Linked DNA regions of Homo sapiens: all the other regions are linked to region 4. The links are contacts of gene promoters, found by promoter capture Hi-C in blood cells and fetal thymus (Javierre and others, 2016). All regions are on one chromosome and are shown on one strand. Each heading gives the region's core, a stretch centred on a gene start or on the middle of the fragment in contact. The rest is flanking DNA. Distances are from core to core; before and after follow the strand shown.

What was found. The method cuts DNA at HindIII sites, captures the fragments that hold promoters and counts their contacts. A CHiCAGO score of 5 or more calls a contact.
Region 1: a fragment that was not itself captured here is called in contact with the fragment with the promoter of AKR1A1 in region 4 in 2 of 17 cell types (activated CD4 T cells and total B cells); the score reaches 6.1 in activated CD4 T cells.
Region 2: a contact is called between the fragment with the promoter of PLK3 here and the fragment with the promoter of AKR1A1 in region 4, in 12 of 17 cell types (M0 macrophages, activated CD4 T cells, fetal thymus and 9 more). The highest score is 14.1, in M0 macrophages.
Region 3: a contact is called between a fragment that was not itself captured here and the fragment with the promoter of AKR1A1 in region 4, in 1 of 17 cell types (activated CD4 T cells). The highest score is 5.9, in activated CD4 T cells.
Region 5: a fragment that was not itself captured here is called in contact with the fragment with the promoter of AKR1A1 in region 4 in 5 of 17 cell types (erythroblasts, naive B cells, fetal thymus and 2 more); the score reaches 7.1 in erythroblasts.
Region 6: a contact is called between a fragment that was not itself captured here and the fragment with the promoter of AKR1A1 in region 4, in 10 of 17 cell types (total B cells, naive CD4 T cells, total CD8 T cells and 7 more). The highest score is 12.0, in total B cells.
Region 7: the fragment with the promoter of RPS8 here is called in contact with the fragment with the promoter of AKR1A1 in region 4 in 3 of 17 cell types (total CD8 T cells, activated CD4 T cells and naive CD4 T cells); the score reaches 7.1 in total CD8 T cells.

The regions. Positions count from the first base shown.
Region 1 is chr1:44,693,130-44,695,829 of GRCh38, reverse strand. The region is part of intron 2 of ARMH1 (armadillo like helical domain containing 1); the gene reads right to left. The region is part of intron 4 of LOC105378690 (a long non-coding RNA gene); the gene reads left to right. Among named protein-coding and RNA genes, the nearest start is that of ARMH1, 20 kb to the right of the region's middle. The HindIII fragment of the contact is 5,253 bases long and covers 1-2,700 here.
Region 2 is chr1:44,799,020-44,801,719 of GRCh38, reverse strand. It overlaps PLK3 (polo like kinase 3), which reads right to left and starts at 1,343. Exons shown (of 15, transcript NM_004073.4): 1 at 1,047-1,343; 2 at 773-880; 3 at 568-684; 4 at 1-98. The coding sequence starts at 1,256. RefSeq lists enhancers at 667-716, 1,487-1,876, 1,927-1,986, 1,671-2,339 and a silencer at 1,107-1,386. The HindIII fragment of the contact is 10,835 bases long and covers 1-2,700 here.
Region 3 is chr1:44,668,414-44,671,113 of GRCh38, reverse strand. The region is part of intron 1 of TMEM53 (transmembrane protein 53); the gene reads left to right. It overlaps SNORD145 (small nucleolar RNA, C/D box 145), which reads left to right and starts at 58; the gene lies at 58-157. The HindIII fragment of the contact is 1,523 bases long and covers 597-2,119 here.
Region 4 is chr1:45,549,470-45,552,169 of GRCh38, reverse strand. AKR1A1 (aldo-keto reductase family 1 member A1) reads right to left here and starts at 1,344. Exons shown (of 9, transcript NM_153326.3): 1 at 1,015-1,344. RefSeq lists enhancers at 872-1,091, 1,322-1,551, 1,602-1,661. The HindIII fragment of the contact is 4,529 bases long and covers 768-2,700 here.
Region 5 is chr1:44,746,971-44,749,670 of GRCh38, reverse strand. KIF2C (kinesin family member 2C) reads right to left here. Exons shown (of 21, transcript NM_006845.4): 3 at 2,186-2,287; 4 at 1,971-2,019. Among named protein-coding and RNA genes, the nearest start is that of KIF2C, 8.5 kb to the right of the region's middle. The HindIII fragment of the contact is 179 bases long and covers 1,259-1,437 here.
Region 6 is chr1:44,722,780-44,725,479 of GRCh38, reverse strand. It overlaps ARMH1 (armadillo like helical domain containing 1), which reads right to left. Exons shown (of 12, transcript NM_001145636.2): 7 at 1,236-1,358; 8 at 1,088-1,160; 9 at 812-941; 10 at 641-718; 11 at 263-344; 12 at 1-189. The coding sequence ends at 77. LOC105378690 (a long non-coding RNA gene) reads left to right here and starts at 1,361. Exons shown (of 5, transcript XR_007066059.1): 1 at 1,361-1,445. RefSeq lists a silencer at 1,749-2,043. The HindIII fragment of the contact is 4,387 bases long and covers 1-2,700 here.
Region 7 is chr1:44,774,257-44,776,956 of GRCh38, reverse strand. It overlaps RPS8 (ribosomal protein S8), which reads right to left and starts at 1,417. Exons shown (of 6, transcript NM_001012.2): 1 at 1,357-1,417; 2 at 817-923; 3 at 183-282. The coding sequence starts at 1,360. It overlaps SNORD55 (small nucleolar RNA, C/D box 55), which reads right to left and starts at 1,092; the gene lies at 1,019-1,092. It overlaps SNORD46 (small nucleolar RNA, C/D box 46), which reads right to left and starts at 465; the gene lies at 368-465. RefSeq lists an enhancer at 794-1,083 and a silencer at 1,164-1,373. The HindIII fragment of the contact is 3,101 bases long and covers 951-2,700 here.

The DNA.
Region 1 (2,700 bases), core at 80-2,579, 860 kb after region 4:
GGGACTACAGGCACGTGCCACCATACCCAGCTATTTTTTTTCTGTATTTTTTGTAGAGACAGGGGTCTCGCTATGTTGCCCAGACTAGTTTCGGACTTGTAAATTCAAGCAGTCCTCCTGCTTCAGCCTTCCAAAGTGTTGGGATTACAGAGGTGAGCCACCATGCCAGCTTTATTTTTTGTTTGTTTTTTTCTTCCTTTTTGTGGAGAATGGAGTTTTGCTATGTTGCCCAGGCTGGTTTTGAACTTCTAGGCTCAAGCGATCCTCCTGCCTCTGCCTCCCTTTAAGTATTGAGATACTGGCGTGAGCCACCACACCCAGCTAGTCTTGTTTTCATAGTCACTCACTATACATATTTCTGGTCTATTATTTCCAGGAATTAGTTCCAGAACACATGGTTTGAGTCCTGGATCTAGAGAACAGGGGATGAAGGAGCAATGTTGGGGCCACAAGATCAGCAGTTGCTAACAAGTACCAGCTCCTATTGTGTGCGGGGCACTGTGCTAACTGCTTTGCTTGCATTGTCTCAAATAATCCTCACCATGGCCCTCCAGTGGGTGCTATTAGCATTTCCATTTACTTCCTGAGTAACATGAGGTAACAATCTCAGGTCAATAACTTGTCCAAGGTCCCACAGTGAACTGCTGGAACCGGGATTTGAACCTAGGCAGTCTGACTAGGATTCTAACTCTTACTGTTAGGCCTTCTGGCTTGTAGACAAATGGAGGGAGGGCGCTTTGCAGATGAACTCCCAGTGTGGTGTCGCAGGTGGAGCTGTGGTCTGCACGGTCCACTGAGTAGGAGACATGATGGTGTATAGGCTTTCGGACAGACACCCGGTTCTAACTTTATCTCTACCATGTGCTAGTAAATTACTCAACCTTTTCAAGGCTCATCTTTCTTATCTATAAAATGGAATAATACCAATCACCTATTAGGCTGGGTGTTAGGCCCAAATGACATAATATTTGTACAGTATATATCTCAGTGCCTAGAACATAAAAAGACTCAATAGGCTGGGCCCAGTGGCTCACACCTGTAATCCCAGCACTTTGGGATCCCAGCACTGAGGAGGGTGAATCACTTGAGGTCAGGAGTTCAAGACCAGCCTGGACAACATGGTGAAACCCCGTCTCTACTAAAAATATAAAAATTAGCTGGGCACGGTGGTGCATGCCTGTAATCCCAGCTACTCGGGAGGCTGAGGCAGGAGAATCGCTTGAACCTGGGAGGCGGAGGTTGCAGTGAGCCGAGATTGCACCACTGCACTCCAGCCTGGGCAATAGAGTGAGACTCTGTCTCAAAAAAAAAAAAAAAAAAGAAAAAAAGAAAAAGACTCAATAAATGGTAACTAATTTTATCATTTAATACATAAATCCTTAGTTTTACTGATCTATTCTGAAAGTTCAAGGTTGAAAAAAGGGTTTAGGCTTATTGGGACTATGTGGTAGTCAATTTTGCAAAAAATAATGATGCTGTGATGCTATTATATTGACTTGTTTTCCTCCAAAATCCACCATAACTGGAGGGCTGAGTAGGAGAAGTGGGTTTGCTAATTCAAAACACTGTTATCACATCACGCAGTCTATTTTATCTGTTGTACGACAAGGCTGCAAAAAGTTAGGGAATTATGAATAATTCTAGGTGTAGAACACTGAATCTACAACTGTTCAGTAAAAGCATGGTTCATTCATTTAGTAAGCACTGACTGAGTACCCACTAAATTTTAGGCACTATGATTGGCACTTGAGAAATGAAGAAGAATGATGTAATGCCTAATGTAATAAGTGCAATGACCAAGTAAAAAAGCACAGAATGCTCAGACACACTGACATTTAAGTGGGGGATTGGAGTGGGAGAGATCCTGCAATAGCAACTGAGAAACAGCGGGAAAAGGTAGAAGAGAGGACAGCTTAAGAGGGGGCAGTGGTCAAGCAAGGCCAGGACTAGGGTGAGGTGAGGGAGGCACTTGCTTGGGGTCTGAAATTAAAAGGGGCACCAAAAAACTCAGTAATCACATAATATTTCAATGCACTATTTAAAACAATCAAATTAATATAAAAAGTCCATGATGGGCCAGACATGGTAGCTCACACTTATAATCCCAGCACTTTGAGAGGTCAAGGTGGGAGGGTTGCTTGAGCCCAGGAGTTTGAGATGAGCCTGGGAAACAGCAACAGCAAGATCCTGTCTCTACAAAAACATAATAAAATTAGTTGGGGATGTGGTGGTGCATGCCTATAGTCCCAGCCACTTGGGAGGTTGAGGTGGGAGGATGGCTTAAGCCCGGGAGGTTGAGGCTGCAGAGCTGTGATGGCACCACTGTGCTCCAGCCTGGGTGACAGAGTGAGAGTGAGACTCTGTCTCAGACAACAACAACAACAAATCCATGATGAGATGAATAAGACATCACAGTGTTAAATAGACAGGATCTGACCCTGCACCTGTACCACCCTGGCTTACTCATCTCACCCTGTGGCCAAGTGGAAAATATTGTTCAGTAAGACAAGGAAGGAAAAAGGAACTCTAGATTTGGCCACAAAGCTAGGGACTTGGTGAGGCTAGTGTCATGAGTTGTGGGGACAGGAGCCAGGTTATAGGCAGCAATGTTTCTCAAAGCATAACCCGGGGACCACTGGCACTACAGCCACACAGAGTACTTGTTAGAAATAAGGGTCCAGGGTTCCACCCTCAATCTAC
Region 2 (2,700 bases), core at 94-2,593, 750 kb after region 4:
TGGTGCAAGTACTTGAGGCCAGAAAGGATCTGCCGCAGGTAGTAGCGCACTTCTGGCTCCAACAGGGTGTGCCGGGCCTTCCAGATGTGGGCCAGGGACTGCAGAGAGCCACTGCCTCAGCCCCTGGTGAGCCCTCCCTCCCCCTCCCCCTCCATCTGTGCTCCCTGAGGAAGAAACAGGGCCCCAGCTTTGGGTCTTAAGACTGTCTTCTCGGCTGGGTGTAGTGGCTCACGCCTGTAATCCCAGCACTTTGGGAGGCCAAGGCAGGTGTATCACAAGGTCAGGAGTTTGAGACCAGCCTGACCAACAGGGTGAAACCCTGTCTCTACTAAAAATACAAAAATTAGCCGGGCGTGGTGGTGCATGCCTGTAATCCCAGCTACTCAGGAGGCTGAGGCAGGAGAATTGCTTGAACCCGGGAGGCAGAGATTGCAGTGAGCCGAGATCGCGCCACTGCACTCCAGCCTGGGCAACAGAGCAAGACTCCATCTCAAAAAAAAAAAAAAAAAAAAAAAAGACTGTCTTCTCTCCCTCACTCTCATCCCTGCGGGAATCACCATCTTTCACCTTTCGGCTGCAGAGCTCCAAGAAAATGTAGATGTTGTCAGCGTCCTCAAAGTGGTGCGAAAAACGCACGATGTGGCGGTGCTGCAGGTCTCGGTGCAGCTCAATCTCATTTAGGATCTGCGATGAGGGCGCGGAGTCGTCATCCTTCCATGGTTCCCATGCCACCGTCCCCACCCCACCCCTCGCCCGCTGAGCCTGGACCCACCTTCTCGCGCTGATGCGGCTTGGCGACGCGGCTCTGCGGGATGACTTTGACAGCGTAGGCGCTGCCAGTCTCTGTGTCAGTGGCCTCGTAGCAGCGGGCGAAGCCCCCCTGTGAAGAGGGGGCATCAGGCTGGTTGTTCCAGGGGGGCCGAGTCTGGCCCGCGGGCGTCCCCGCGTTGGGGGTCAAGTGCCCACGCCCTGCTCGGCGCCAGAAAAGAGGCCGGCCGGGACCCCCACCTCCACCATCACCACCCCGCGGACGTCCCTCGGCCCACCTTGCCCAACAAGCGGCCTTTGAGGTAGGTGCGGCCGCTGCGCGGGTCCGTGATGAGGCGCCCGGGGTCTGACGTCGGTAGCCCGGCCAGCATCTCCAGCTCAGGTCCGCGCAAGGCACTCGGAGGCGGCCCGGGCCCGGCCGGGGGAGCGGGCGCGGCGGCCGCACGCTGGAAGGGGCGCGGAGACAGGAAACCGGCGGCAGGCTCCATGCGGCCGGCGCGTCGCAGCGCGGTCCCGGCTTCTCGGTTCCGCCCGGCCCCGGCCGCGCGTGGCGCTGCCTGGATTTGCTACGCTGCGCTGGCGCCCAGGGGAGCCCAGCGTTTTATCAATGAACGCCTGCCCCCTCCCCGGCGTCTGGTCACCGAGAGTCCCGCCCCCTTCCTAGCAGCGAGTCGAGGAGAGGCCACTCCCATTCCCGGCCTTACATCACCCAGAAGCTCCTCCCCCACCCAACGCACTGCCAGACCCCGCCTCCTCGCCGCGCCCCGGGGCGCAGCCCGGCAGCTAGTCACCATGCAGGTGCAACCAGGCCGCAGGGGCCAGCTGATCCCTGTCCGCCTCTCACCCCTCCTTGGCCACTGCGAGTCCCGCTCGTGGGGGCCTCTTTCTTTCCCCATCCTTCGGGATGTGTGCTGAAGTCCGAGTGGGGCCCGGGCATCTGGGGGCGTCTCCCCAGCAACTAGATAGATCAGCGTTCCAGCCAGCAGCGGAGAGGCAGGGGCGGCGCTCGCTTTTGCCCGGGCATGTTACCCGACACTCCCCTTTCAGTGTGCCGGACCGCGTGTGTCCCTCGCCCTCGCCCGGGGCCCGGCCCAGTGCTGCCCTCTTTAGGGCCTGGAAGGAAGGCACAGTCTCGCGCCTGGCTTGCCTGGCCCGAGGGCTGCCTTGCCAGGTTTAGGAGTCAAGCAGAGTCTGGAATTTCAAGGCTTTTACCATGCTCCAGGCCACATCTTCCGCTACCCACTTCTACACTCTTGAGGGGCAAATTTCGGGTTCCTCCGGGGTCCGCAATTCCCTTCCTCTGAAAATACCCCCGGGCCTGGGTCAGCAGCCAGAGGCCAGAAAGTGAATGGGAATTGGATTTTCTTTTTTCTTTCTTTCTTTCTTTTTTTTTTTTTTGAGACAGAGTTTCGCTCTTGTTGCCTAGGCTGGAGTGCAATGGCGCGATCTTGGCTCATCGCAAACTCTGCCTCCCAGGTTCAAGCGATTCTCCTGCCTCAGCCTCCCGAGCAGCTGGGATTACAGGCATGCGCCATCACACCCGGCTAATTTTGTATTTTTTTTTTTTTAAGTAGAGACGGGGTTTCTCCATGTTGGTCAGACTGGTCTGGAACTCCCAACCTCAGGTGATCTACCCGCTTCGGCGTCCCAAAGTGCTGGGATTACAGGCGTGAGCCACCTTGCCTGGCTGGGAATTGCATTTTCTCAAATGCTAGACACGGGCACTTGGGCAGCTAGTCTCTGGACCACGTGGACCCCTAGACCCCTGCGCAATGCCCACCCTTCCCAGGGCCAGAGACAGAGGCCCAGGACCACAGGCCTCCTGGCCTTGTCTCTCACCTCTCTGCCCTCCCTCTGTGCCAGCCAATCAATTACCATGCCATTCCTCAAAGATTTATTGAGAGCATCTGCTAAGTGCTGGACACTATCTCG
Region 3 (2,700 bases), core at 109-2,608, 880 kb after region 4:
CTCCCATAAGCACTATATTTTCCTGTTGTCGTGTTTTTGATGGCTTCACTCACTGTCACCAGGGCCTGGGAGGGATGATGTACCAAGTGAGCTGAATGGAATCACTTGGCAGCACTGTAGGCCCAAGCCAGAGCTGCTCTGACATCCCAGGCCCAGGCCGTGCCACCCCTCCTCCCATCCAGAGAATGGTCAGCCAAGTCCCACCTAGATCCCCTCTGTGACTTGCTCATAGGCCAGCAACCTTCTTAAAGGCACCGTGTGGCTCTCATGTTCAGTAAACATAAAGAAAAATTCATTCATAGAATTAATGAGTCTGGGGCCTGGTCATGGGACAAACATTTTGCTCTTAAAGTAAACAGAAGGTCTTAAGGGGATCACAGAGAGGGGAAGTGAGGGGGTTTTTGCTCCCCAGGTTTTACCGCATGCCTTTTTTGCTCATCACTGGCTGAGGTCAAAGAAATATAGACATCATTTTAACCCTCAGGAAGTTGTCTCGGACACCCAGGAGACAGTGCTGAAGGGTCTGGACCACCATGGTGGGCCCTGTGGTGGGAGAGGCTTCCTAGAGTAGAGCAGCCCAAGCTGGACCTGAAGCTTCAGGAGGGCTGACAGACCCCCATGGTGAGCAGCAGAAAGTGTGGAAGTCAAGTCCATGGCCATACCACCTTGAACATGCAGATCTCAGAAGCTAAGCAGTGTCAGGCCTGCTTGGAACTTGGATGGGAGAAAGTGCAGAAGTAAATCCCTGAAGGGGGACAGTGAGTGGCTGGAGGGAACAGGGGCCTGGCAGGAGGCCGCGCTGTGCTTTTGTGGGTGGAGAATTAGATGAAAACCTGAAGATCTGTCATGATGGACAGACCTCAAAGACCCAGGTGAAGAGAGTCGTTTGGGATTTGATCCTTGTCTTGTCTACGAGGACCCCAAAGGTCTTTTTTTTTTTTTTTAATACAGAGGAGTTGTATTTATTTTTGGAATCATGATCTCTTTTCTTTCACCTCTAGATAAGAGCCCTTTCTGGCTGGGCGTGGTGGGTCACACCTGTAACCCCAGCACTTTGGGAGGCCGAGGTTGGCGGATCACCTGAGGTCAGGAGTTCGAGACTAGCCTGACCAATATGGAGAAACCCCATCTCTACTAAAAATACAAAATTAGCCGGGTGTGGTGGCGCATGCCTATAATCTCAGCTACTCAGGAGGCTGAGGCAGGAGAATCGCTTGAACCTGGGAGGCGGAGGTTGCAGTGAGCCGAGATTGTGCCATTGCACTCCAGCCTAGGTAACGAGAGCGAAACTCCGTCTCAAAAAAAAAAAAAAAAAATAGGATGCTTTCTAAGTGTCTGCTCTATGCCAGGTGCTGGTGCTGTACTAGACCCTGGATTTGAGATCCAGGCCTCTTTGCAGGCCTCCTTTTCTCTGAATGTCTGTGGTACTTAACACTGTTAACCATGTTCTATCCACATGCCAGGCCCACCAGGAGCTCCTTTCATTATTTTATTAATCCTCACAACCACCTTGTGAAGTAGGGAGAACCCTTAATCCTGTTTTACAGATGAAGAACAGATGCTCGTGGGGAGGTAAAGTGTCTTGCCCAAAGTAATTCCAGATTTCAGCTTAAGAGCCTTACTCCAGAGCTTGTGCATGCCGAGATTTCAGTTGCCATTAGGAGGGGCTGCCTGAATACGATGCCATTTCTAGGAAACAATTAGGGACATGCACAAAGAAAGGGGTGTCCATTAAAGTATTTTTATAACAGCAAAAAATTGGAAACAGCATCATATCCAATAATGGGAGATTTGGTCACCATAAATTATGAAACATTCTATAGCCTCTCTGAAGCCACTAAAAATAATGGTGTAGAAATATATAAACTGACAGGGAAAAATGTTCACAATATATTGCCAAACGGAAGAAAGCAGATTACAAACAATATGATTCCAATTTTATTAGATATTCATTTTCTACTTTTTCTACAGTGAGTATGCATTACTTGTGAAGTAATAATAATTTCAATTTATTGAACTCTTTCCTTCTGCCAGGCACCATGATAAGCCCTCTATAGCTATTATCATATTTAATTCTTTGTATCATTGTCCCCATTTCACAGATAAGGAAATTGAAGCTTAGAGAACTTGATTAAGGTCTGTGTCATAGTTATTAAGTGGCAGAGGCAGAGATTTGAACCGAGATATGATTTTGTACAGTATGTACTCTTAGATACTATGCTACTCTGCTCTGCTCTTCTTTTAAAAAGTAAATAAAAAATAAAGTAATTTGGCCGGGTACAGTGGCTCACGCCTGTAATCCCAACACTTTGGGAGGCCGAGGGGGGTGGATTGCTTGAGCCCAAGAATTTGAGACCAGCCTGGGCAACATGGCCAAACCCTACCTCTGCAAAATAATACAAAAATTAGCTGAGCATGGTGGTGCTTGCCTATAGTCCCAGCTACTTGGGAGGCTGAGGTAGGAGGATTACCTGAGCCCAAGAGTTCGAGGCTGCAGTGAGCCATGACTACACCACTGCCCTCCAGCCTGGGCAACACAGAAAGACCTTGTCTCAAAGAAGAAAAGAAAAATTTGATTTAAATATAGGAACTGTGAGACACTAGAAAGTTTTTCTGGGGAGTAGAGAAAATTAAGACTCTTTCAATTTTTTGCATGTTATTTTATTTTTATTTTTATTTTATTTTATTTTTAAGACAGAA
Region 4 (2,700 bases), core at 95-2,594:
TAAATGGATGGCTACTTCCATGTACTGATAGCATGTGCACATCACTACATTTTTCTGTTTATATATAAATTTCCCCCACAAACCTGGCTACTCCTTGAGGTCTGAGCCTGTCATCTGCCTGAACCCCTCACTCCTAGAGTACCTGTCCCATACATACATACATACATACATACATACATACATACATACAATGTACACAATACACACACCACACACACACAGCTTATGGGGGAGAGATCTTGACAGGTTGAGTTTGGCCAGCTGGAAGGACATTTGAGGAAGTCGCTGCCTCTGTCACCTTCTTCCTTTACCTGTTGGAAAACCTGAAAAGAATCCTCTTGGAGAATATCAAAGCACTTTACTATACTCGGCAAAAAATCCCAGTGGACCAGATAGAATCATACTGAGATTGCTCCTGTATTAAAGATAAGGAAACAGATCTTGGAAAAGTAACAGGCCTGCAGCCCTGAGTATGAACGATCTGAAGGGGAAGAGTTAATTAACAGTAGCCTCATCCAGTGAAGGTTCAGATCTGTGTCTTACTTTAACAGAGTTCTGGGGCAACAGAATAACATGTCAGACTTTCTCAGACCCAAAGCAGGTGTCTAAGTAAGAGAATTATCCCCACTTCTCCCCACTTCTGAGAACTATCCCTGCACCTGCATAAGAAAGCCGGAGCAGCTGGAAAAAGCACATAGGTGAGCAAACAAAAAGATGGCAATTAAAACTTGCAGATCACCTAGTATGCGCTGTGCGCCTTCAAAGCTTTATCTCAATTCTTGCTACAGTTCTAATGTAGGACCTCATTTTATTGCTGAGGAAACAGGTTCAGAGAAACTGGGAAGTTAGCAAGAGATCATACAGAGAAAAAGAAGAGCTCAAATCCGAAACCAAGTCTCGTCCCCTCCAGTGCTCTGCGCTCTCCACTCAACCCCAGGGGCTTACATTTCAGTAGTAAAGAATCGAGGCCATCTCCTCCGGGAGAAAGATAGGCCAGCAGCAAGAGAAACTCACCTTGGCACAAGCACAGAGCGTGAATAGGGTACTGTGGCCTGGGCTCAGTTCTGCACCCCGCCAGAGATCCAACGATCCTCAGCTTAAGTCTGGCGGTGAGGGGGAAGTTCCACCCGGAGGGAGGGGCAGGGGCCGGGCATAAAGGATCACGCGCAGGGTGGACCGCCTTCGCCGCCTCCCGAGGAAGGACCTGAAGGGGATGGAAAACAGAGCTGGGAGGTAGTACCGTCTCCACCTCTGGATCCTCGAGGTCGAACTGGCCGGAACTTGGTCACTCACTCCGCAGCGCGGGTTTGGAGAACTCCTGGGCACAATGAGGCAGGTGGCGCTGGCCACGTGGGCGGTGCAAGGGGCGGGGCCAGCCTCGCCTTTTGCTGGCCCACATTGCACCGCGCGCCTAGGCGCCGCCGCAGGCGCTTTTCCGGGGGAAGTAAGGTAGCAGATGCCACGTTGCAGGTTCTTCTGGTGTCGGCCCTCCGGATTCACAATGCCATCCGTGGCTCCATACTCTCCCTAAAGTCAGGTTGGCTGGATTCCCAAAGTTCACCTAAGTTGGCCCCGTTACATTTAGTTCAAGCAAACTGAGGCCCAGAGAGCAGCTGCAACACCAAGATTGGCCAGAATACAGAAGACCTCGCGTCTGCAGATCCAGGCGCTGGAAAGTGCCTGGTCCCCCTGTCTGGACCATAGACCCCGCCCAGCACGTTATGTGCCAGGCACTGTGCTTAACACTTAATAAACATGGTTTTATTGAATCTTCATAATAATCCTGGAAAAGGAATATTCCTTTTTTTTTTTTTTTTTTGAGACGGAATCTCGCTCTCGCCCAGGCTGGAGTGCAGTGGCGCGATCTTGGCTCACTGCAACCTCCGCCTCCCTGGTTCAAGCAATTCTCTGCCTCAGCCTCCCGAGTAGCTGGGATTACAGGCGCCCGATACCACGCCTGGCTAATTTTTTTGTATTTTTTAGTAGAGACGGGGTTTCGCCATCTTGGCCAGGCTGGTCTTGAACTCCTGACCTCGTGATCCACCCGCCCTGGACTCCCAAAGTGCTGGGATTACAGGAGTGAGCCACTGCGCCTGGCCGAAAAGGAATATTCTTTTATTTCGTACAAGCCTTTTTAAAAATCGTAGTATAGCATATATACAGAAAATACACCAGTCTTTTTTTTTTTCTTTTTCTTTTTTTCCTATTCTACATCCAGGAAGAAAGAAAATGTATAAATCTTAAATGTATACAGTTCTTTTTTTTAAATTATTTTTTGCAATGTAACTGCCATCCAGAGGAAGATATTACCAGCACACCATAAGCCTGTGAGGAAAGTATTCATAATCCATTTTACAGATTGGACAGACTCAGCAAGGTTAAGGCTATTTATAATTTTCCCAAAGTCACACAGGTATTAATTAAATGACACATCTGCGATTTGAAATAGTCTGTGCTGTTTGAGTGGAGAGGTGTCTTGCATGTATGTGTTTTCCTTGGCAGGGATGGGCAAGACACAGGGTTATCTCGGTTTGGCTCTGCTTTTCCCCACACCTTTACTCCCTGAGAGCAACTCTTCCCATTTCCCCACCCCCGTTATCCCCCACTGTCTCCCCAACATAAGTGATGTCCTGGTGGACCAAATGTCTAATGTATCAGGCCATCCTCATAAAAACAATCAGACTTGGCCGGGTGCGGTGG
Region 5 (2,700 bases), core at 99-2,598, 800 kb after region 4:
TGATGGCTATATATAATCCATGTTTTGAATTTTTACAATCGTCCTATTTCCCTAATGATTTTATTTTATTTTTTATTTTTATAATAAGACTGAGTCTTGCTATATTGCCCAGGCTGGTCTCAAACTCCTAGGTTCAAGCCATCTTCCTGCCTCAACATCCCAAAGCACTGGGCTTACAGGTGTGAGCCATCACATCTAGCCCCAAATGATCTGTAATTTTTTTTCTTTGTTTTTTTGAGACCGAGTCTCACTCTGTCACCCAGGCTGGAGTACAGTGGCATGATCTCGGCTCACTGCAACCTCTGCCCCCCCGGGCTCAAACGATTCTCCTGCCTCAGCTTCCTGAGTAGCTGGGATTACAGGCACCCACCACCACGCCTGGCTAATTTTTGTATTTTTAGTAGAGACAGGGGTTTCACCATGTTGGCCAGGCTAGTCTTGAACTCCTGACCTCAGGTGATCCACCCGCCTTGGCCTCCTAAAATGCTGGGATTACAGGTGTGAGCCACCACACCCGGCCAGTTTTTTGTATTTTGAATAGAGACAGGGTTTCACCATGTTGACCAGGCTGGCTTGGAACTCCTGACCTCAGGTGATCTGCCCACCTTGGCCCCTCAAAGTGCTGGGATTACAGGCATGAGCTACTGCTCAGGGCCTTAAAGATTTTTTTTTCCATTAAAATGAGCTGTGTAGCTGGGCATGGTGGTGTGTGCCTGTAGTCCCAGCACTTTGGGAGGCTGAGGCAGGAGGACTGCTTGAAGCTAGGAGTTCAAGACCAGCTTAGGCAACAAAGCGAGACTCCATCCTAAAGAAAAAAAGCTATTGGCTGGGCATGGTGGCTCGCGCCTGCAATCCTAGCACTTTAGGAGGCTGAAGCAGGAGGATCACTTGAGGCCAGGAGTTTGAGACCAGCCCAGGCAACATAGTGAGACCTTGTCTCTACAAAAAAAAAAAAAAAAAAAATTAGCCAGGTGTGATGGGGCACACCTGTAGTCCCAGCTACATGGGAGGCTGAGGTGGGAGGATTGCCTGAGCCCAAGAGTTCAAGGCTACAGTGAGCTACGATCATATCATGGTATTCCAGCATGGACAACCAAGTGAGACCCTGCCTTTGAAAAACAAAACAAAACAAAGCTGGGGCAATATCCTTTGAGGACATGAACACGGAATGGGACTGCTGCGAGTCCCAACTCTCCTGCATGACCTTACGGTACACCCAGCAAGAAAGGGCCAGCACCACAATAGTCAGGCCCAAGCTTGCAATGGCACCACCTTCCACTCAGGGCCCCCAGAACCTGAAGCTCCAGCCAAGTATTCTGTGAGTCCCTGAGGTAGCTGAATCATTTCAGGGCAATGATGACCCCTAGACCTGGAGAGCTGTGCAGGTCACCAGCCTTCAAGGTACAACTGGCTTTAAGCTGGATCTTTTGGGAAGCTTACCCCCTAGAGTCACAGTCTATCATGTTGTCAAAGTAGGTTTTCACAGACTACTTCTGCAGAGAGACTCCCAACCTCCTAGACCACGAGGCAATGCTGTTATTCTCTCCAGCCCCAGCCATCCCTCTCTATAGCGCCACCAACTGTACTTCTAAACAACCCACAGGCCTAGTGTCTCCCATTTTCAAAATCTCTTTCCAAGGCATACTGTTCCACTGAGGGGGCTGAGCCCCGAGGGAAGAAAAAAGGCCTACCAATGGCTGATTCCTACTCTCCTCAGCATCAGGCTCTGGATTCTACAGAAAAGGTTTCTAGGCCAGGCAGCAAATTTCCTAAATGCACCAGGTCTCTTAAAGGTTGGCCTGATAGCTGTAGATTGGATTCTTTCTCATAGAGAAAGATGCTTGGAACACAGGCAGGACTCAACCCACATAGAAACCACCTGCAAAAGAGGAGCTTCCACAACTCTGAGTCCTAGAAACATAATTCCTGACACAAATTCCATGATAGTAAGCTAGTAGAAATCCACTTACTTTCTTTTGGAGCAGGAATTTTGGAGTTGACGGATCTCCGTTTTTGTTTCTGAAAAACAAATCAAATTGTCACAATATATGGCTCTTATCAATTCTCAAGGGCCCATCCTGGGCCCATGTACTATGCTAAAATGCCAGACAATCAATCAGCAAAGAGTCAATAAGCAAAGTGAATTCTCTGGCGCACTGGCTGCAGCCAGATGACAGGCACCTACCTGGATTGTTACATTTTCCTGCAAGGGCAGATTGTCCTTCGGATGTAAGGGAAGAAGCTGTAAGAGTTCTGGGTTTATTGCAGCCACATCATCAAAATCAATCTGCAAGGAGCAAGTAAAAGTTTCAATGAAACAACATTGTTCAATCCAAATACATTTTTTCTTTTTTTTTTTTTTTGAGACAGAGTATCGCTCTGTCGCCCAGGCTGGAGGGCAGTGGTGCGATCTTGGTTCAATGCAACCTCTGCCTCCTGGGTCCAAGCAATTCTCCTGCCTCAGCCTCCTGAGTAGCTGGGACTACAGGCATGCGCCACCACGCCCAGCTAATTTTTGTATTTCCAGTAGAGACAGGGTTTCACCATGTTGGCCAGGATGGTCTCAAACTCCTGGCCTCAGGTGATCTCCCCACCTCGGCCTCCTAAAGTGCTGGGATTACAGGTGTGAGCCACTGTGCCTGGCCCCCCCGAGGCTGAGGCGGGAGAATTGCTGGAATCCAGGAGGCGGAGGTTGCATTG
Region 6 (2,700 bases), core at 55-2,554, 830 kb after region 4:
TTGACCCCAGGCGCCTTCCTCTTGCCAGGCTTCCCTGCCCCGCAGCCTTGGCCTTCCTGGTTTGCCACAGGGGCTGTTACTCCTTTGATTCTACATCCTCCTCGAAGTGTGTGAGGTAGGCCATCTGAGCCGAATCGCGCGAGCCATAGAGAGTGTTCATGCTGTAGGAGCTGCCATGGAGGCACAGGGCTGCAGGCAGGAAAGGCGGGCGTGAGGCTGTGCTGGCGGCGCCTGCGCCCGGCTTCCCTCGTCCCACACTCACCTTTGGTAACATTGACTGTGTTGGCCGCCAAGATGTCCGCCTGAATGCTGTCTATTTTCATGTACAAGTCCTCAGCGTTGCTCTGAGGACAGGAGCAAGGGGGACCCGGCTGGGGTGCCAGGGCAGTCTGGACTTGGAGTTGGGCTTGGCAGAGGGATGTTGCAGGTGGGGGGCGGGTCGGCAGCCTGACCGAAAGGGCAGGAAAGGGAACAGGAAGGTGGCGGGTGGAGGAGCCTACGCCAGAGCAGTCCCTCCTGCAGCTGGTGGCCAGGTCCACTCTGCATGTGGCGCGCTCCAGGATGGGGACTGTCTGAAGGGGCATCACACTGTCCGAGCCGCCATCTGCTCATTGCGGCGGGGCAGGAAGGGCGCACTTACCAGGAAGAGCTGGTAGAGTTCCTCCCCCATGCACTTGCGCACGTGCTCCGCCACCAAGGGGAACATCTGCACGAAGCACTGCGCCGCGCGGGCGAGGCGGCGTGACTGCGGGGGCGACGGGGCTGCGGGTGCCGCCGCCCTTCCCGCCCCCTAACCAGCCGCCGCGCGCACCTCCAGCGTGAGGCTGGCCAGCCGCTGGCTGTTGCTGTGGTCCGTGTTGCCCATGGCGGCCATTAGGCCACGCACCACGCGCAGGTACAGCAGCTCCTCGGCGATGCTCATGTCGTTGCGCGCCAGGACCCTGGGCCGGGGGTTCGGGCTGGGGCGACGCCCTGGGGCTCACCCGGCGCACACCCCCGCCCACCCGGCGCACGGAGCGCTCCCGGGGCCCGCCGGCAGCGCCAAGCCAGGCTTGCTGCAGCTACCCACTAACCCCTGCCCGCTTACCCGATGGCCTTGGCGGCCGCGGCCTGCTGCAAAAACATCGGCAGGCTGGGGGTGAGCTGGAGAACCGAGGGGTCTGAGGAGGGGGCAGCCGTGAGGCAAGAGACCGCCCTCCCGTGGCCCAGGCAGCCCCATTTGAGCAGGTCCTTACCACTGAGGATCTTGGCCTGCAGTTTGGAGATCTCCTTGACCGACGGTATCAGCAGCGCCACGAGGCCCTTGAGCAGCGCCTGGCGCACATCGTAACCGACCAGGTCTTTGATCAACTCGATGGCTGCGGAAGGGCAGAGGTGCTGGAGAGAGGCCCCAGGCCCCTCCGCCACCGAGGAAGCAAAGAACCCCGTGAACCAAGTCGCCACTCGTCAGTGTCCTCCTCTTTTACTGATCAGCACTGTGCAGGGCGTGGGGGAGCTGGGAAGGCGAACCTCAGTTGAAGAGCAGGAGGAGGGGGCTGAAGGGGGAGGAGGAAGGGTTGGATGGTGAGCCCACCTGTCGAGGCGGCCTAGGATGTCAGCGCTGGAGGCTGAGACCCCAGAGAGGGGGGCCTTCGCCTTGGAGGAATCCAGGTTTCATGGAGGAGGGAAGGGCTGGGTCTTTACGGGAAGACAAGATGGAGAAAGACAAGGGGTGAGAGGGAGACAGAGAAAGTGGGTGGGAGACTTGTGGCAGGAAATGAGAAAGGGGAAGGAAGGTAGGCGGCAGTTTAGAGAAACTCTCCTTCTAACCATCATCGAGCCCTCTCCACCAGGCAGGGTGCCAGGCTTTCCATACAGCACCCGTGGAAGCTCACCAGAACCAGATGAGGTTCACTTCCCCATTTTACCTTTGCCGAAATTAGACACAGAGAGGTAAACCACTTTGCCTAAGTTACACAGCTAGGAAGTGATGGAAGCAGAAGGAGGGGAGGATTTGGTTAGGAAGGAGAAGGGGACTAGAATTTATGGAGGGCATTTCCTGCAGGGCTTTCCTGTAGATATTTTACAGGCAGTCATTCATTCAGTCCAGCATTCACTCAGTCTTTCGGCACGGCTGCATGTGAACGCCTATGGTGCCAGGCGCGGCATTGGGTGTTGAGGATACAGACTGAATTCATTCATTCGACCAACCCTCCTTAAGCGTGCACAAACAGGCAGCGATGATATGGTGACAGGTGCTGTGGAAGGAGTCAGTGATTGGGCTGTGGGAGCACAAGAGAAAATCGGCAAGGATTGAATGTTTTTGTAAAGAAGAGAAAGGAACCACAGAGCTAGAGGGGGCAGGAGGAGAAGGAGATGCTAAGATGATGGCACACCAGCATAAATGCTACCTTTTTTTTTTTTTTGAGACAGAGCCTCACTCTGTCGCCCAGGCTGGAGTGCAGTGGCGCGATCTCGGCTCACTGCAACCTCCGCCTCCTGGGTTCAAGCAATTCTCCTGCCTCAGCCTCCCGAGTAGGCTGGGATTACAGGCGCCCGCCACCACACCCGGCTAATTTTTTTTTTTTTTTTTTTTTGTATTTTTAGTAGAGATGGGGTTTCACCATCTTGGCCAGGCTGGTCTTGAACTTCTGACCTCGTGATCCACGCGCCTCGGCCTCCCAAAGTGCTGGGATAGCAGGCATGAGCCACTGGGCCCGG
Region 7 (2,700 bases), core at 168-2,667, 780 kb after region 4:
TTACTGAGAGTCTCGCTCTGTTGCCCAGGCTGGACTCGAACTCCTGACCTCAGGTGATCCGCCCGCCTCGGCCTCCCAACGTGCTGGGCTTATAGGCGTGAGCCACCGCGCCAGGCCCACTTGGTGAATCTTAAGACCGTTTAGGTGCGTTTTCCCACCCACTCCCAAAGGGCCTCACTCACACTCTGAGCCCCAGGAGAAATTCCCCACGTCCAACCTCAGGGCACGGTATTTCTTGTTACCTCCCCGCACACGGACTGTGTGGATGCGGCGGGGGCCAATCTGGAAAACACAAGGTTACAGGAACTAGGTTACCAAGGAGAGCAAGGCAAGTGAGGGAGAGGAACCTGGGCCGGGAGGAGGCAACAGTCAGTGTAACTATGACAAGTCCTTGCATTGGCAAGTGGCACACAGGTGACCAAGACGGCCACAACCACGCCTAAGGATTCTTTTTCATCACCCTACTTGCCTCCAAGAGGAAAGCCTGACCCCAAATGCTGAAAATTAAGCCTCTGTAAAAAAAACAAGACTAGGCTTCTGACTATGACGCGAGGCGCCACCCTCTCCAGAAGCTCAAGTCCCCACACAGTATCCTTCTCTCTGAAATCCTAAGCTCCAGGTTTGGGGGCCTGAGGGAGCATTCCCTCTTTGGTACTTACTTATCCAACAGCTAAAGGGGGACAGGACACCCAGGCCCTACTACAGAGAAATCAGAGCCCAAGAAAGAACGCACAACTGTCACACGGAAAGACCCGAGCACGCTGGAGAGCGGGGGAAGGCGACCTCCCAGGCGGACAGGCCCACGCTCGCACCCACCTTGGTGTTGGCAGCTGGGCGCCCCAACTCATACTTCCGCTTCTTGTGGTAGGGCTTTCTCTTGCCCCCGGTTTTGCGGCGCTTGTGCCAGTTGTCCCGAGAGATGCCTGCATGTGGAAGCGGGGAAGGAAGCTTGAGCCACTGTGACTCGGTGCTAGCGACTCGCCAGCTCCCGGAGACCCCCGCGCCGGGCCGGTCGCACGCTCAGCTCTCCAAGGTTGGCTTCCCCACCGCGCACTCGGGAGTATGCAGCATTACCGAGTTGTCATCATACACGTGCGGCCAGGCCGGGGCCTCCTCCTCGCGGCAGCCATGTTGGCGCCGCTCGGAGCCCGCAGCCCGCGGCCCGGAACCCGGAGCCCAGAGCCTTCGCAGCCCCCAGAGACGGGCTGGGCGGCCGAAACCCGAGGGCCACCACTCCTCGTGGCTGTCCCTGGCCGGGGGTCGGGGCGTCTGGACTCCTCAGTAGGCTGTGAAGCAGGATGGGGCCTGATTGAGCTCAACCTCCCTTCACCCGCCTCAATGCAGAGCGACACTCACCCATCGCTCGGCGCTGGCTGGAAAGAGAAACCGCAAAGATTCACGGTTCGGTTTGTAAAACGCTGCCCCGCCCCTTTACTTTACGTTGTTTCTGAGCGCCGAAACAACGTCGGGCGACGAGACTTACGTGTCAGCTGCCGCGCCTAGGGCCACGAGCCTAGGAGGGTCTCGCAGGCTGCTGACCTCTGCCGACCCCCGGCGACTCGCCTCCGACCCTGGGCTGGGGGAAGGGGGTCTGCGGCGTCGGCAGATCTGGGCGTGTTTAGACTAGTTTCAGAGGCTGCTGCGGTCGTTTAGGATGAGATGTGGGTGCGGCTGCGTTGAAAAAGAGTGGAAGGCAATGGAATTGGAAACGAGTGTGGACTTGGGTTTTGTTTTGAAGGGTTTGGTGGTAGATTGGACATGGGGATTGAGGGAGAGGGCGGTGTCAAGGATTCCTAAGATTGTCACTTGATCAATCGGATAAATATTGGGGCCATTTACTGAGATGGGGTAGGCTAAGGTAGGAGCTGTTCTGGACACGTTCATTTTGAGATCTTGCTAAGTCATGTTGAGTGGGACTAACAGATAGGAAGCTGAATATTAATGACTGGTCATCCTTATAAGGGATCTGCACCGAAGATGTTATTTTGGGAATCGTTGGCTTATAAATGGTAATTAAAGCCACCAGAATGAACGGAACTTAGGAAGAGAGTATAAAGGAGGGATCAGCTAACTTTTCTGAGCTAGAAGGATATCTATTTTTTAATTAAAAAAAATTTTTAGGCCTGGCGCGGTGGCTCACGCCTGTAATCTCAGCACTTTTGGGAGGCGGAGGCGGGCGGATCACGAGGTCAGGAGTTCGAGACCAGCCTGGCCAACATGGTGAAACCGCGTGTCTACTAAAAAAATACAAAATTTAGTTGAGCATGGTGACGCACACCTGTAATCCCAGCTACTCAGGGAGGCTGAGGCAGGAGAATCGCTTGAACCAGGGAGCTGGAGGTTGCAGTGAGCCGAGATCGCACCACTGCACTCCAGTCTGGCGACAGAGCGAAACTCCGTCTCAAAACAAAACAAACAAACAAAACAAAATTAGCCGGGCGTGGTGGCGGGCGCCTGTAATTCCAGCAACTCCGTCTGGAGGCTGAAGAAGGAGAATCACTTGAACCGGGAGGTGGAGGTTCCAGTGAGCCGAGATGGCACCAATGCACTCACTCCAGCCTGGGTGATGGAGTAAAACTCTGTCTCAAAAAAATAAAATACACAAGTTATTATTGATTATAGTCACCCTGTTTTGCTATCAAATAGTAGGTCTTATTTATGATGATATTTTATTTTTGTACCCATTAGCCATCCCCACCA